Regions from separate parts of the Homo sapiens genome. Here region 1 is linked to region 2. The links are contacts of gene promoters, found by promoter capture Hi-C in human tissues and cell types (Jung and others, 2019). All regions are on one chromosome and are shown on one strand. Each heading gives the region's core, a stretch centred on a gene start or on the middle of the fragment in contact. The rest is flanking DNA. Distances are from core to core; before and after follow the strand shown.

Region 1 (5,673 bases), core at 2,778-5,277, 800 kb before region 2:
AAATTATAAAATAAAAATCTTATTTTTACTGGATTTTGGCTTAACTGTTGTATTTTCCAAATTATTGAAATGACTATTTAGATTATTAAATTCCAATCTTTCTTCTTGTCTAATATATGAATTTAAGGCTATATATTTACCTCCAAGCATGACTTTAGCTATATCTCATTGTTTTATATGTTAAATTTTTATTAATTTCAACATATTTTCTAAATTTTATTATGATTTTTTGAAGCTATTTAAAATAATGTCTGTGTATATATCTGTGTGTAAGTCCTAAACAATGCAAAGAACTTAGAACCCTTAATGCAAATTTGTACCCTCTAACTACTGGTCTTTTTTTATTCATGTGTTTATTTCCCCGATTTCAAAATTCCTTTGTGTATGAGATTTTATTCATTTTCTGAAAGAAGCGACAGTATTTCATGGAGAGACATAGCAAGGTTCCAAACTGAAAACAAATAGATGTTAAGCAGTGATTAAGCATTTACTTTCAGAACCATGTATGGCCATTTTCCTATTACACTTCCACTCTCATTACCCCATATGCAAAAAATGTTGTTAGTGGCAGCGTTGTTATTTGTGCCCAGAATAAACTTGAGATGTCATCTCTAAAGAAAGGGAGTGCCTAATATTTTTAATTTTGTTGTGATACATCAGAAAAAAGAATGCACACACACAAAAAAGGCAGAAGTAAATTTCATTCTCCACAACAGAACTAGAGATGAGAAACAAATAGTAACTTTACCAGGAATAAAATAACCCAAAAATTATCACAGTGTCGAATATTTCTAATTTTGTTGTGACACATCAGGAAAAAAAAAGGCAGAAGTAAATCTCTTTCTCCACAACAGAAATAGAGAGGAGAAACAGATAGTAACTTTACCCAGGAAGGAAATAAGCTAAAAACTATCAACACTCAAAATCTCTTTTTTTTTTTTTTTTTTTTTTTGCTATTTGAGGATGTTAACACCTATCTAACTGCCACCACGTAACCACACATCCCAACGTGAAGTCTACCTCTGAGAAAAAATATATAAAATGCAATGCATATCATGTTTAAATATATATTAATAAATGAAGACTTATTGAGATACAAATGATTATATTAATGGCTACGATAATATATCCTAAACTATTAGCACTGGTTTCTTCTGTAAAGAAAAGTAGGAATTAATGGGAATTGACAGAGAACTTTTGTGTTCTACTCTATTTCTTTGTTGCTCAAAACTTTTACAACTAGAATGAACTTAGTAGATCCATATTTTATTTGTGTAGATTAAAAACATAATAGCATGATAACTTTAAAAATTGACCAACTAGTATTTCGTAGCTATTGTGTTCAGTTCTGGATTAAATATCAGTGTCATATTTTTAGTTGATTGAAATAAAAAGGAAATCTGCCATATTTTTCCCCACAGATTGAAGCTAATCATTCTTAAGCACAAATGAGCTGTTTCATATAATATACATGCTATATTAACTCTTTCCCTTCAAGATGTTTGAGCAAAATTTTATGTTATCAGTCAGAAGGCTCCATTTATTAAGGATTCCTTTGATTGCTGTAACAGAAACCTAACTTAAAGTAACTTAAGCAAGTTGTGATTAGGTCACTGGAAGATCTTGTCTTAAGGATAACTGGATTTAGCACTTCAAATGGTTTTAGGAATCTCTTGCCTGTATGGAAGGGAGGATAATCTTAGGCAGCTTCTAGGCTAACCTCACAACTTTGTAAACATAGAGAAAAACAGTTTCAAAAATTCAGTAAATAAACATTCTCAAACTATTTGGGGCTACAGATCCACTTCTGTTGGAGTAAGGGTGATTATTATCAGAACTAGAATTGATAATAGACATAAAATAGCATATATACACTACATACTTCAGAATGAGTCAAAAAAGCTAGCAACAGTAATCTAGCCCAAACTTTAAAAAAATAAGTAGAGTTATTAGCTAGAAACTGGTATAATTCACATAATCCAAAAAATGTGTTGAAGCCACATGTCCAAAATTTGAACCTGACTCAAACGAGGGAATATAATGCTTTCAGGATACTTTCTCCCTCTCTCTCTCTCTCTCTCTCTCTCTCTCTCTCTCTCTCTCTCGTCTCTAATTACTTTCAAACAATGCTTTACTTTTTTTTTTTTTTTTTTTTTTACAATGCTCTACATTTTTCCCACAGAGCAGCAGACATATCTGCTGCCAAGTCCAGGCTCTTGTTTTTGAAACTTTGTGGCCAGACAAAAAATAGACTCTTTCTTTTCTTTTTATTTATAAGCTTTTTAATCAATCAATTTATTTATTTTTTCTATTATGTTTTGACATCTTAGATGCAATGTCAAAACATTTCAGTAAATTACTGATATGGTTTGGCTCTGTGTCCCCACCTCAATCTCATGTTGAATTGAAATCCCCAGTGTTGGGGGAGGGACCTGGTGGGAGGTGATTAGATCATAGGGGTGAATTTTTCCCTTACTGTTCTCATGATAGTGACTGAGTTTTTATGAGATCTGGTTGTTTAAAAGTATGTAGCACTTCCTCCTTTGCTCTCTATTCCTCTTGCTCCAGCCATGTAGGACTTGCTGGCTTCCCTTTTGCCTTCCACCATGATTGTAAGTTTCCTGAGGCCTCCCCAGCCGTGCTTCCTGTACAACCTGCAGAACCATGAGCAATTAAGCTTCTTTTCTTTATAAATTACCCAGTCTCAGACAGTTCTTTATAGCAATGTGAGAACGGACTAATACAATTACACTTAACATTATGACCTCTTTCATACCTTCACATTTTGAGTCAACCACTTTGGTAACATTTTGAGGAGGTCCTATAATTTCTATATTGAGTATCATGACTTCCTGGTAATTAGAAAGGGTGAATTGGGTATGTGTAAACAAGAATCAGTAGATATACATACACTACAGATATATCAGTAAGCTTTAAGTCTTAAAGTGTGCAATAAATCAATGTAAATATTTTATATATAAAAATAGTGTTAAGGAGATATGAAACAAGTTAAAGACTCTGGTAAAAAAATATTTTTAGCTATCTTTATTTCACAGATTATTGCCTGCATGTTGGAAATAAATATTTTGAGGTAAAAATTACAGTTACATTTTGCATGTTTACTTCACTGTTATAGTTTTGTGACTTTTGAGTAGAAGATGTTTATTTTGTTGCTTTAAGACTTATTTTCCTTTGAAAATACTTAAATTATGTTTCATTCTTAATTATAATTTTATGTCCACTTGCCAAAGCACTTTCCATGAGACTATATTTTTAGTTTTATAACTCAAACACTGGTAAAATACTGTCCTCTTGATCTAACTTTGTTTTATGCAACACTACTAGAATTAACCTATTCTCTGAAGTAAGAGCTACCAGTAATTCATTAATAGACTAGTTTTTGACTCATCTTCACTCAACTTAGTTTCACATGGCTACCACTAAGCGGCAGTGTAGCAACATTCTTCTGTGTAGTGTTGCTCTCACTTATTCCACTTCACATTTTGTTTCCTTTAAGAATGTCAAAGTTTTTTATTCATTCTATTTTTTAAATGGATGGGACAATGGTATTTCTGGTCTTAATTTCTGTTTTTAACTTTCAATTTTAGCTAACATTTCTGTAATCATGCAACTTATGTAATTTGTCAATTTTTTTTTGTAGAGAAAGAAACTAGTAAATCTGGTTTGCCAGCCTTTTTTTCTCTAGCTGAGCATGACAATGGGATAGTTAATTTTAAACTGGTTTTGGTACTGTCTTAGAATCAAAGCCTAAGCTATTGCTCCAGTTAGTAGAACCCATATGTGTGGTAGCCAGAAGAAAATTTGCCTTCAGTATTTTAGCCATCACATAATATTACTTCTGGAAAAGCCTGGTGGTACAGTTCACTAAGTTGAATTTTCTGTATTAATAATTACCAAATATGATCTCTGACACACTCAGAGTGCCAGAAGACACCCTAAAGATTATCCAGTAGTCCAACTCCCTCATTTTAGAATGAGATTTGATCCAAAAAATGTTCAGATTATTAGCTGTGTTCGCATATCCAGTTTATGGCAAAATCAAGACTAGGGCTGAGAAGCTTTCATTCTCAGTCCAGATGTTTTTATAATTGTTATCTCCTTGAAACTTGGGTAATGATATATGATCCCAAATAACTTAAAACTAATATTTGCACAAATGGTCATGTATTGGTCATATAAACAAAAACTTCAGATTAACTTTCTTCCCACTGGGGTAATCAGTGTTGAGAAGGCATAGACAGAAAGATCTAATTTGCCATCCAAATTGAGTATAATTTTTCTTAAGAGTCTATCATTATGTTCAAGTTTATCATTAGGCTTCACAAAGACATATTTGTAAAGTGTTTACATCTTCCAATTTGTATAGACTAACCACAAATAAAGAGTACATATAGAGTTGGTCTAAAATTGTGTTCCTATTATAATAAAAACAATTTGTTCTCTTCAACACACAGTAGTTGGATACTCTCACTCTTACATGGTAGGGTAAGAGTGTTCGCATTAGGTTTGTCACACTCCTGCAGCTCTTCTCTTGTCACAATTTAATTCCAGCAAACTATGTGTGGGTTTAGTTTTCAGTTTTGAGGTTTTAAACTCAGGAAAACAGCAATAGTTTTTTTATTAACTAACAGTAAATCATAATAAAACCTAGACCAGCTGTTCCCCTGACCAGCATAAGGTGGTACTGTGAATGTAAGTTTAATTTCTGGAACTCCATGGGAAAAAATTCAAAAAAGGGCTCTTTGCCCTTTGTTAATTGCAAGATAGAAATTCCAACAAAGTGATGAGGAATATGATTATTTTTATGAATCACTGCAGAGTAGCAATAACAAAATACCAACGGGTAAAAAATACTGCCTCAAAAAACTGCAATTGTGTGTGTATTAAATAATAATTCTCACTGAAATTAATGTAGTCTACCAAAATTTGTCATATTATTATTCATAATATTGAAAGATTTTGACGTTACTTAAAGATTTGCATTTTTAAAAATTTTAAGAGCATATATAGCTGTCTGTACTCCACCACTGTTTATTTACCTTGAATACAATTTCTGTACTTTTTGAGATTCTTGTTCTCTTACTCAGACCCAAATTGTCAATATATAAAAGCTAAATTGCTTCCAAAAACTGATTGCAAACAGATTCAGACCAAAAACAAATCAATCAAGTAGAAATGATTCTTAGATTACTAACAGTATATTATGCACTGAACAAGGTTCAAAGTTTAAAAATGTTTTCTGCATTATATTTGCTAATGATTATGTTGTGATTAGTTGCGAACCAAGCAGGCAGTGTATGTTATGTCCAAAATGAACAAAGTGGAAGGCAGATGGGTGAAAAGGTTTGCAGATAAATAAGTTACTTTAGTCTGAGATGGCCAAAGGTATCCTTCAAATGATTTAATCCCCTACCCATCTCTTAGCAGTTTGACATCCTCTAAGTTCTAACACAACCCTATCTCCCCCTACTCTACCTGCCCTGTCCAGTACAGTAGTCACTAGCCACAAGCGTCTGTCCCAATTTAAATTGTATTAACTAAAATAAATATAATTACATATTAAATTCCTCAGTCACACTGGCCATATTTTAAGTGCTCAATACCAACATATGACTAATGACTCCTGTATAAGACAAGGCAGATTATAGAGTA
Region 2 (5,491 bases), core at 429-2,928:
GTATACTTTTTTTCTTTTTAAACTCAGAAACATTGAACACAATTTGCTTCTCATATACAAATGGACATTTATTCACTAGTGTACTTCTAAACTGTGATATGAAGGAGGTACACTTACAACCAGGGAAGCTGGCCATCATCATTTAAGGAATCCTGTCTTTAAGGGAATGGGATCCTTCCAACTGTTCGCCTGGAAGAGCTGAGAGCATCCTCTCTAGAAATCTGCCAACTTGTACACCAACCTCCAATCCAGTCCCAGCCACAGTGGTTCATGCCCCACATTGCCCTCTGCAGATAACCCAAAACGGACGATCCCAGGAAAGTGATATTTGTCGTCGTCCTTTTGTAAAAATAGTATCCATCGACTTTCCTGTATCGTGTACTGGGGAGCTTTGCGCAGCAAGCATGAGCATACGTTCTCACGCGCACTTGCACACATACACACCAACACCACCACAAACAACAACACCACACACCCCACACATTCTCACAACAAACACACGGGATGGGGATCGAATCACCCTCTGGGATGGATTCTAGACTTCCCACCCCCTGCATGCCCCAAATGCTGTGTTCTGGCTTGCCAGCTTAGGAGCCCAGTTTACAGCTCAGCCAGCCCCCAGAGAAAGCCCTTGGTATCCGTGTTCAGAAGAAAACCTATCCGACCCGTGCGGCCACAAAAGAGCAGGAAAGAAAACCAAATAGAGAAATTAACAAATAACCACGAACAGCCAAAAGCCATGCAAGATATGGGCAAAAGGCTGGAAAGTTTCAATAGAGGACTGCAAACTCAAGTTTGCGGGACTTTTTTAGACCGAAGCCCTTGCACTGAGCGTGGACTAGAAGGCACCAGCATTAATGAAAGCTTCTAGTCCTCTTTCCCCACCGATTTACAGCGTGAAGAATAGAGGCAAACTAGTTAAGACTCACTCTACAAACAAAGTTGGATGAGGGTGGTGAGGCATGCAGAAGAGGCCAAAGGGGTAAGAGAAGTGGGAGAGCCAAGAAACGAGTGTCTCACCTGGCATTGGTGCAATCGGTGAACAAAGTTTCGAAGTCTTTCCTGGTGATGAGTTTGCAGCGGTTTACCCCGGGCTGGATGGCCCCCAGCCCGCGGAGGATCCGGACCTGCTCAACAGTACACACCACGGGGGATATATCCAGTCTCTTCAGCTTGGTGTACACAGTGTGCAAGCCTCCCACCAGGTGCTTGAGAAAAAGATCAAAGACTTGCGGCAGGCAGATCAGTTCCTGGCCGTCCATCAGGAACGAAGCCACCTTCATCCCGTGCATGTCGACCATGCGGCACTCGTTGGTGTTGGTGTTGCCCCTGCCGCCGCCTCCGGCACTGTTGCTGTGGTTATTAACCACGAAACTATTGATCATATTAGGAGTAAGACGAGGGGGCTCTCTGGGAGTCGAGTACAGGGGTTCGGCCCGGAATAAGCCCCCCGGGACGCCGGCGCCGCTGGAAGTTGCAGAGATCACTGGAGATGCGGAGACAGCCATGGTCACTCTGTCTCTATCGTGGGTCCTCCGGCCCTCGCTTTCTCGCCCTGACTCCTCTAGATCCCCTCGCACTCACTCCCTCACTCTCGCTCTCTCTGGCGCGCTCTCGCTGGCTCCGAACTGTTCGCAAGTCTTCAGCAGCCGGCTCACGCTCAAGCTCAACAAACAGTGAGCAGCCCCGACCCGCTGCGGCCCCAGACCCCACCCCCACCACACCCCCTCCGGAGACTGGCAGCGTCCCACAGCCAATGGGCCCCAGCCCTTCTGCGCCCGAGCGCTCCGAATGGCTGCCGCTGGTGAGGAGGTGGAGACTCCCTGGCCGGCGTCCGACTACCTGAGTGGGTCCAGGCTCGACCAAGAACAGAGATCCAGTCCGAGAAGGGGGCGGTGTGGTGCCTCTGCTTCTTGCCTCTCTGCCAGACGAGAGAACTCCCAGATGTCACGCAGAGTTCTCAAAGTGGCCTATGCTGTGAACCCATCCGCTCCGCGCTCCGCTGGTGTCGGGGTGGAAACGCAAAGCGCGACTCCTGAACGTGCCTCCCCATGCCCCTTCCGCCACCTTACACCGGGTTAGATCGTGGAAAGTGAGGTGGCAGCTCCAATTCCACTTGCGCATCTCTCCCAAACTCTGCGGGGGCTAATAGATGGCTTCGCCTAGCTTCCGGGAGAAAGACGCTAGCGAGTTCAGAAGTAAACAGCTCAGCCCTTTAGCCCACCTAAGTGCGCTTGGTGTAAATTTTCCCCTACCCAGCGCGCAGAGGAACAAGCGTCCGAGATCATACTCAGATCAGAGTTCTGGTTGCTAACTCGCACTGACATTCAGGAAGCGTAGTGAGCCTGTGAACACTTTGGGAAACAGAGAGACTTGCTCTGTGGGTGGCAGATGGACACCTCATTTTATGGCACTTCCGCCACTGTCCTGGAAGAGACTTGTCTGTGTCCCCGTCCCTTAGTGTCGAGATTGCCCTGGCCCTACTCCCCGCTAAAATTGATAGGAAATGTTTGTTTAGGACTCAAAACAGTCATCACGGAATATGAGGAAAGGGCGAGGGTTTGCATTCTTGAACGTGCATTTTCCTTCCTCTTCCATTGGCTTTGAAGGTCCAGTGATTGGAGCTCCAGTCCTAAACAAGATTCCACTTCCCCCACTCATCAAGCGTCCCAAACGTACTAAGAGCTTATAGAACAAAATGTCTAAGCAGGGTACATTCCAGGGAAAAGGAATGGTCTTTTCCACACAGCATATGGTGGTTAGATCGCCTTAGCAAAGTTGTTTTTGTTTGTTTTGAGACAGATTCTCACTCTGTCGCCCAGACTAGAGTGCAGTGGCACAGTCTCGGCTCACTGCAGCCTCCGCCTCCGGGGATCAAGCGATTCTCCTGCCTCGGCCGAGTAACTGGGACAACAGGTGCGCGCCACCATGCCTGGCTAATTTATGTATACATATACATATATATATACACACATATACATATATATACATATATATACACACATATACATACTTTTTTTTTTTTTTGTAGAGACAGGGTTTCACCATATTGGCCAGGCTGGTCTCGAACTCCTGACCTCGTGATCCGCCCTCCTCGGCCTCCCAAAGTTCTGGGATTACAGGCGTGAGCCACCGCTCCTGGCCTAGCAAAGTTGTTTTAAGACTCCTTGTCAAGCTATTCATTCTCTAAAACCAAGATATTTCCTTTCCTGTGCTCCTCTTCTCTGGAGGCTGTTAGTTATTCATAAAGTGAAATCCAGGTTTCGTTTCTTTACAAAACGTTACCAACTACATGGCTTATGGTAACTTCTCTGATATTCTTCTAAAATATAAATAATGTTGGAAACTTACTGAATTTTATTCAGCCCTAGTTGTACTTAGCAGGATCAACGAGAAATGTGTGGGTTCTTTTTGCTCCCTTATTTAGTTACAGATACCCTAAATTGGATTTTTCTGCCTCTTTCTACAACATATTTTCTTCTTTTCTCATTTCATCAACCAGGTTTAAGAACTGCCCTTTGAATCTCTTCATACTGTTTCAATTTCAAATTGTACAGGGTTAAAATGCTAAGAAGTTGTGATGATCATTGCTTTCAAAATGCAGTGATATGACTCTAACATAATAGATTGGGATATAGGCAGCCACGAGACATTTTTAAAAGGCATCAAAATGTTTTTGCTACATCGATACTGTTGTGGGAAGAAAGTAATAAGGGGCAAAAAAAGGACAATTGAGAAGAAATAGCAAAGGCAGAAAACGCCTCAACCAAAAGTAGAAGTATCAAAAAAGAATAAAACAGCACTGACAGAAATGTTTGTATTTACCAGTTTTTAAAAAGAGAAATCCCAAATTGTATTCAACAGGTGTTTTGACTGAAATGGCTGTTAAACTATCTGTTGAAATAGCTTGCCTCTGATAACTTATTGTGATTGAAATTTCCAGGTGAATAAGTTTGGCTGTAAAGGATGTTTTATTTTCAAATGGCTCTAATTACGTTAAAAATCCTAAGGCCAAGCTACCCCTTGTATGTAGCTGTGCCCACATTATCAAGGCCTTTTTATTTGCAGAGCAATTTGGGGTTTTCAGCAATAAAACATTGCACAGATATTTTGATGTTTCAAATTTAAGAAATCTGAAATATAAAAAAAGAAAGGCAGATTATTCATTCATGCTGTAATCAGTAATTGTGAAATTGAAGAACAGACATACTTTGACAACTTTAGAAAAGGCACAAATTAAAAGTCATGTGTTTAATGAGATGTATCAGGTTTACAGTAATATTTTAATTATTACTAAAGATTACGGTTCTATTTCTAGCAGAAATACTAGAGACTCAAATTGGCCATTGATCATTGAAAGGTTAAAGTTCTTTGGAAGTTTTCAACACGCAAAAGACCCTCGGTTTCATTATTTGAATTCCTTCTCATTGCAGTCTTCTAGATAAACTTGGTAGCGTTCTTAAGTAACACATGCAATTTAAACATTTAGTCGTTTAGATCTAAGAGAGCAGGTTTTGTCTCCTTTTTTCTTGACTTTTTGATTATTCTATTTTTTATCACTACTATTTCTACTATTACTATCAGTGCTTTGAGATTGAGACAATCAATTTTACACAGAGGGTTTGTTTTTGTCCCTTTCTGATTTTAATGTCTTCCATAAGCCAAACATACTTCTAAACAGGGCTAGGTTTCTACAAGACCAGAGGAAGCCTTTCACATCAACACCCTGTAAGTTTGGAATTGCTTGATGCAATATAAAATCATAAAAAGGTGGCAGTAAACAGAGTACCCTTGGGAGATGACTCTCTATGGAGAGAGGCACTGCATTAAAACTAAGAAAATACTCAAGGTTTGTGAATTAATACAAGACAGGAGCCAACCACCGCAACAAATAACGACAAAATTAGTATAAGCAGGTACCATATCTCATCAGAAGAAGTTCTAATTCCAGTGGAATGATTTGGGGCCTAAGTGTAGTTTCCCATACACTGAAATGCTGTAAACTTCCATGACTTAATTAACAATTTACATTTTATCTTAATTCATACTCAGTTTGGAGGGGAGGGTGCTCATCTGTGATTTTAGGCAAAATATTCTACTTTGACACTGTCAGTAAAATGCAGGTACCATTTTAACTAAAAATTAAAAATACATATATTGGCATGCTTATGCAGCACTGCAAAATATCCAGAACTATTTGAAGGGACTGGTTTTCAGATCAGGCATTCAAGTAAATCCCAAGGTAATAAATGGAATTATTTGAAACCCTCAGCCAACTGAAGTTACAACCTTGAATGTGGCGGCTAATCACAACCTCCCAGGAGACCTCTAAGGTTCACTTTTAGGTAAACAATAAAAGGAAATTGGGCAAGACAATAAATGTAAAATGAAAGCCTTCATATAACTGAGAATTTAAGTGATGAAAGCCTATAGCTATGTATGCATGTATACCCCATTAGGAAACTGGTTATACGATTATCTATAACATCAT

Evidence for each region. The method cuts DNA at HindIII sites, captures the fragments that hold promoters and counts their contacts. A contact is called where the count stands out against the background at its distance.
Region 1: a contact is called between a fragment that was not itself captured here and the fragment with the promoter of DACH2 in region 2, in 1 of the 25 tissues and cell types used here (thymus).

What each region holds. Positions count from the first base shown.
Region 1 is chrX:86,944,549-86,950,221 of GRCh38, reverse strand. No RefSeq gene overlaps it. Among named protein-coding and RNA genes, the nearest start is that of KLHL4, 570 kb to the left of the region's middle. The HindIII fragment of the contact is 3,098 bases long and covers 2,479-5,576 here.
Region 2 is chrX:86,144,638-86,150,128 of GRCh38, reverse strand. It overlaps DACH2 (dachshund family transcription factor 2), which reads right to left and starts at 1,678. Exons shown (of 12, transcript NM_053281.3): 1 at 1,021-1,678. The coding sequence starts at 1,508. The HindIII fragment of the contact is 5,915 bases long and covers 246-5,491 here.